Linked DNA regions of Homo sapiens: region 1 is linked to region 2. The links are contacts of gene promoters, found by promoter capture Hi-C in blood cells and fetal thymus (Javierre and others, 2016). All regions are on one chromosome and are shown on one strand. Each heading gives the region's core, a stretch centred on a gene start or on the middle of the fragment in contact. The rest is flanking DNA. Distances are from core to core; before and after follow the strand shown.

What was found. The method cuts DNA at HindIII sites, captures the fragments that hold promoters and counts their contacts. A CHiCAGO score of 5 or more calls a contact.
Region 1: a contact is called between a fragment that was not itself captured here and the fragment with the promoter of ZNF776 in region 2, in 1 of 17 cell types (neutrophils). The highest score is 5.9, in neutrophils.

What each region holds. Positions count from the first base shown.
Region 1 is chr19:58,160,633-58,163,957 of GRCh38, forward strand. All of the region lies in intron 1 of LOC124904784 (a long non-coding RNA gene), which reads left to right. Among named protein-coding and RNA genes, the nearest start is that of ZNF329, 12 kb to the left of the region's middle. The HindIII fragment of the contact is 9,989 bases long and covers 1-3,325 here.
Region 2 is chr19:57,745,308-57,748,532 of GRCh38, forward strand. ZNF776 (zinc finger protein 776) reads left to right here and starts at 1,508. Exons shown (of 3, transcript NM_173632.4): 1 at 1,508-1,784. The coding sequence starts at 1,752. RefSeq lists an enhancer at 1,520-1,569. The HindIII fragment of the contact is 9,325 bases long and covers 1-3,225 here.

The sequences.
Region 1 (3,325 bases), core at 151-2,650, 420 kb after region 2:
AAAAATTAGCCGGGCGTGGTGACAGGCGCCTGTGGTCCCAGCTACTCAGAGGCTGAGGCAGGAGAATGGCGTGAACCCGGGAGGCGGAGCTTGCAGTGAGCCGAGATCACGCCACTGCACTCCAGCCTGGGCGACAGAGCGAGACTCCGTCTCAAAAACAAAAACAAAAACAAAAACAAAAAACAAAAACATAGCAGCTTACAACAAGGGAAGACAACTTTTTCTGTAAAGGACCAGACAGTAAATATTTTAGGTTTGGGGGACTATATGGTCTCTGTTGCAACTGTCAACCTTGTTGTAGCACAACAGCAGCTATTGACTATACATAATACATGGGCAGAGCTGTATTTCAGTAAAACCTATGGACAGTTGAGTGTGGTGGCTCACACCTGTAATCCCAACACTTTTGGGGGCCAAGGTGGGAGGATCACTTAAACCCAGGAGTTCAAGACCAGCCTGAGCAACAAAGTGACACCCCATCCCTACAAAAATAAAAATAAAAAAACTTTATGGGCCAGGCGCGGTGGCTCACGTCTGTAATCCTAGCACTTTGGGAGGCCAAGGTGGGCGGATCACGAGGTCAGGAGATTGAGACCATCCCGGCTAACACGGTGAAACCCTGTCTCTACTAAAAATACAAAAAATTAGCCAGGCGTGGTGGTGGGCGCCTGTAGTCCCAGCTACTCGGGAAGCTGAGGCAGGAGAATGGAGTGAACCCAGGAGGTGGAGGTTGCAGTGAGCTGAGATCGTGCCACTGCACTCCAGCCTGGGTGACAGAGTGAGACTCCGTCTCAAACAAACAAACAAACAAACAAAAAACTTCATGGACACTGAAATTTGAATTTCATATAATTTTCACATCACAAAATATAATTATTCCTTTATTTTCAATTATTAAAAGATGTAAAAACTACAATTAATTGATCACAACCAGTTACAGATTTCTTTGTTCTTCTCCACTCCCACTGCTTCGTTTGACCAGCCAAAACAACAAAAAAAAGAATTTTAAAAAATATAAAAACTACTCTTAGTTCATAAGCCATCCCCTCCCCAAAAAGGCAACAGACGGGACCAGACCTGGAAACTATAGTTTGCTGACTCCTAGCAGTAACAAATTACCACAGATTTAGTGGCTTAAAACAAAATAAAGTTATTATCTTATAGTTCTGGAGGTCAGAAATCCAAAATGGGTTGGCTTTCCTTTGGGAGGCATGAGTGGAGAATACATGCCTTCCATTTTCCAGCTTCTAAAGGACACTTACATTGCTAGGTCTATGGCCCTGAGTCACTCCAACCTCTGCTTCCATCATCAAAACTCGTTTTCTGATTCTGACTCTTCTATCTTCCTCTTCCACATTTAAGTATCCTTGTGAATACACTGGGCCCACTCAGATAATCCAGGATAATCTCTGTATCTCAAGATTCCTAATTTATTCACATCTGTAAAAATTCTTTTGCCATGTGAAGTAACATTCACGAGGTTCTAGGGATGAGGATGTGGACATCTTTTGGAAACCATTACTGAGCTCACTACACAGTCCAAGAAGGCCTCTCTGAGGAGGTCAATGTTAATCTGACTTCTCAAGTAAAAGAAGGAGCCAACATACTGAGGAAGAGCATTTTGGTAGAAGGAGAGCACTAGCAAAGGCTCTGAGGTGGAGAGAATTTGGTACAATCAAGAAACCAGCCAGGCACAGTGAGTGGCTCATGCCTGTAATCCCAGCACTTTGGGAGGTCGAGGCCGACGGATCACTTGAGGTCAGGAGTTTGAGACCCGCCTGGCCAGTATGGTGAAACCCATCTCTACTAAAAATACAAAAATTAGCTGGGCATGGTGGCGCGTGCCTGTAATCCCAGCCACCTGGGAGGCTGAGGCACGAGAATTGCTTGACCCCAGGAGGTGGAGGTTGCAGTGAGCCAAGATCACGCCATTGCACTCCAGCCTGGGTGACAGCGAGACTCGTTCCCCAAGGAAAAAAAAAAAACAATAGCAGGCAGTGAAGACAGAATGGATGGGCAAGGGGAGAGAGCAGAAGAGTCAGGGGAAATCTGGCTGACATGTGCCAGGCCTTGTGCACCTTGATTAGGAGTTTGGGCTTCACCCTGAAGGAGACAGGAAACCAGAAGGGGTGGAGTTAACCTCGGGAGTGACATGATCTAATTTGCACCATTAGAAGGGCACTGCCTGATGTGTGGGGGAAGATCTCCAGCAGGCATTTAGTCACAGGCTTTGGAAATTCAGAAGCTGAGGGTTAGTGATCTCGACTTGGAAGTCATCAACATAACAGTCGAATGGTGAGGGATACAAGTCACCTCAAACAATTGGCCAAGAAACAGTCACGGTGATGCCATGCTAGGTACTGTTGCCAAGGAAATTAGCAAACAGATTTGGAATCTGCCTTTATGTAGCAATCAGCATAGTGAATGTGGATGTTCTACAAAAAAGCATAAATATTTGAGAGCAATGAGAAGTCACTCGTTGAATTTAAGCAAGAGAATTAAATGATCTAGTTTACATTTTAAGAGAGACAGGGTCGGGAGAGGGGGGAGGGATAGCATTAGGAGATATACCTAATGTTAAATGACAAGTTAATGGGTGCAGCACACCAACGTGGCACATGTGTACATATGTAACTAACCTGCACGTTGTGCACATGTACCCTAAAACTTAAAGTATATATAAATAAAAATAATAAAAAAAATAAATAAATAAATAAAAGAGACAGGGTCTTGCTGTGTCACCCAGGCTGGTGTGCAGTGGTGCAATCATAGCTTGCTGCAACCTTGGAATCCTGGGCTCAAGAAATCCCCCCACCTCAGCCTTCCAAGTAGCCGAAATCATAAGTGCACACCACCACACCCGGCTAATTAAAAAAAAACTTTTTTTGTAGAGACGGGGGTCTCACTGTGTTGTCCAGGCTGGTCTCGAACTTCTGAACTCAAGTGATCTTCCTGCCTTGGCCTCCCAAAGTGCTGGTATTACAAGGGTGAGCCACCACACCTGGCCTGATTTCCATGTTTGAACGGTTGCACTGGTTGAGTGTTGGGATGGTGTCATGAACAGAAGAGGAGATGATGATGAAAGCACTACTGTGTAGTTCAGTCAAGAAGTGTCATGACTTGGAACCGGATGAGTCAATGGAAGTAAAAAGGGGATCATTTCAATGTATGTTTAAGGTGGGCTCAGAATTTGGTGATTGATTCAAAATGGAAGTGGAAGGGTCCATGGCTACTGGCATGAGCAACTGTGATGCAATCCATGGACAGGAGAAACCTGGGAGAAGAGGAGGTAGAGCATGAGAGTAGAACTCAGTACTGACAAGGT
Region 2 (3,225 bases), core at 258-2,757:
AAAAGGCAAGCAAGTTTTATTTCTGAGCAGAAATGGAGAATGAGTAAGCTCTTGCTCTAAATGCCTCTTCTCCCTGAACATAGAAGACATAGGTTTTTTAAGAACTGAGCGGCTGGGTACAGTGGCTCATGCCTTTAATCCCAGCACTTTGGGAGGCCGAGACAGGTGGATCACCTGAGGTTGAGAGTTCGAGACCAGCCTGACCAACATGGAGAAACCCCGTCTCTACTAAAAATACAAAATTAGCCAGGTATGGTGGCTCATGCCTGTAATCCCATCCATAACATTAATTTATTAGGCAAAACACTCCTTGCCATGGAAACAGAAATAAAGAATAGTCACAAAAAAAAAAAAAGAAAAGAAATAAATAAAGTCTGTTTTATCTAATACAAAAAAAAAAAAATAGCCACTTCCCAGCAATAACATGAACTCCTGGATTTAAGACACAACCAATATCAACAGGTGGAGAGCATCTTCTGCATACGTGCCCCACCTTTGAAAACTGCAGCCATTTATCACTACCAAAATAGCATTTCTTTCATTGGTCTTCCTGTAAGATTGATAAATCTTAGATAAATTAATCCAGAATTAATTGAATATAAGTTGGAATCTCAAGCGAGGGATACTAAGTGGATAAAAGTGTTGCTCAATGTACTGGACACTATGATTGATTTTATAGGCAGGAGAGTTGTCTTCTGTGGGAATCACAGACAGAGATTCAGCATGTATTCCTGCTTTAGGGAACACAACATTTCTCCTCTATCTTCCTTGTCTTGTCCTATCTGGATTAGTTCTCTCTTGTCCCTGACAGACTGAGAAACTGACTCTAATGCCTCAGAGTGCATTCATGTGAATTTATAACACAATAATGTTTATCAGCCTCTGCTGCCAGTACCGGGATTTTGCGACTGAAAGACTGTTCAAAACGTTATGATAATTTGGATTTTTAGTCTTTGGGGGCATCCTAAATAATAAGTTTAGCATCGGAGAGCTCGAGTTCCCCAAAATCTAAAATAATATTTTTTCAAATACTTGAGTGATCAGTTACAGACACTAATCTCCAAAAATCTCAATACGGGTTCTAAGGCTAGGTGAGACTATCCTCTACCCTAGAAGGACATGCACTTTAAGGACAGGCCGCTGAGATGGAGCTGGGCCTTTCCTGCAAGTAAGTGAACGTGATGGTAGGGTATACCTGACAGCATAGTTTGACAGGGGATATAGACTTTCAAGGAGAAAATAGACATGAAATAGATACATGCAGAAGTATAGTCAAATTGAGGGAAGATGACACTTAGGCCAGAGTAGTGTTTATTCACCACTCTGTGCAATCAAGCGCCTCTGAGAAGGCCTTCTTTACCGCCTTGGAACTGTCTTGGAACCTGAGGAAACTACATAACCCAGAAATCTCTGCGTCGAATGACAGCGCGTCAGAGCCAATGAGGGCTCAAAATAAAGGCGTTTCCGCGGAAACAGTATAAAGGTGGGACTTCCGGCGTCCTCTACTAGTGGCCATTTTGATTGGTGTTGGGTGTATTTTCCAGTGAGAGACCGCGGAGTGTTGGGTCGTGTAGAAGTGACTGAACCCAGAAGGTGGAGACGAGACGTTGTCCCGACTGCACAGAGGCTGCTCTGCAGCTCCTTAAAGGCGCTAGGCGTGACCCGCACCAAGGCCGGGATCGGGACCACCGTGCCCGGGTACCTGCACTGCTCGCCCCCTCCTTTCGACCCCGCTTTCCCCACCCAGTCGGATGGCGGCGGCCGCGCTGAGGCCCCCGGCTCAGGTAATTGTGGCGTCTTCCGTGCCCTCAGGTCACCTCATCTTTACCTAAGTCCAAAAGCAGAGAGGAAGCGGCGCCTGCTCAAGGTTTTACACCCTGAACCCGGCGTCGGGACACTGAGGCGCTCTCTATGGGCCCCCGTTTTTGACACCCGCGGGATGCGCTCAGGAGAGCTACAGGCACAGGGAGCGGTGCAGGCAAAGGCCTGGAGATGAACTGAGCCGAGAGGATCGTAACCTAGGGTCCACAGGCACCTGTCGGGAGCAAAGTGTGAGGCAGAGCTCCTCCTGGAAGAGCAGGCTGAGGACCGTGTATTCACCCTGAGAACGCTGGAAGCCATGGACAGCTTCCAACAAAGGAAGGAAAAGATCAATGTCCAGGCTTTAAAGGTTTCCCAAAGTCCAGTCGAAAAAGAACACAGGGGATGACTTTTGGGCCCTGGGAGGTTGAATTCTTGTTCAACCTCTACAGATCAGATAGGTGCTAAGAGATGACATTTTGTACTGAGGCGCTCAGTTCAGACAACCAACTCGCGTTTACCTAGTTACAGGGCCAAGAAAGAGTTCAGGGAGGCCTGAGCTTATCAAATCTCATCAGGGATACATTCTTGTAGCTTGTGCCTCTCCTCTCAGGAACTCCTGGCTGCAGAAGCACTTGCAGAACCTCCGCAGGGAAGCGGAGGGTGTTATTCCCTCACTGGCCCTAACTCCTATCCACATGCTCTTTAGATTGGGATGTCCTGGGATTCTTAGGTACCTTTTTTTTTTTTTTTTTAAGTTTTTTGATATGGGAACCCTGGAGGAACCTTAAACCCAGGATCCAAAGTCTGTGACACAGGATATATGGAGGTATTCCCATTTCTGTCAACCAGTATAAACATACTTGGAAGGTTAACCCAGGAGTTAGTACCAGGATGTGAAATGCTTAGAGGTGAAACTGACCAGAGGGAGGAGGTGATGTTGCCACAGTTTCATCTGGCTGTAGTCTCCTCTGGCTGTACAGTGGAGAACAGACTGTGGGGTTGAGAGAGGAGGAAATAAGATGAGAGTTGAGGCTTTTGCCGTAATCCAAGTGAGGGTTAACAGACTAAGATTCATGGCTAAGGAGATGTGGCTGGATTCAAAGTTGATATTTTGTTACAGCATCTAGGTTTCCTAATACACAAAGTAAGGGCATGAAGAGAGCAATCAGGATCCCGAGGTTTTTGGTCTTAGTAGCTGTAGCTATGGAAGCTGCATCAGCTGAGATGAGCATGTTGGTAATAAACATAATTAGAATATTATGCAAATATCAGGATGACTGTTATGGCCATATGAAGAGTCAGAGACGAATAAGTGTAGGCATCAAATGGCTATGGACATGCAGGTTGGGGTATCTGGAAAGGGATTGACACTGGAGACATCTAATATATGGTAGCTAATGTGTATGCTATGGTGAGTGAGCC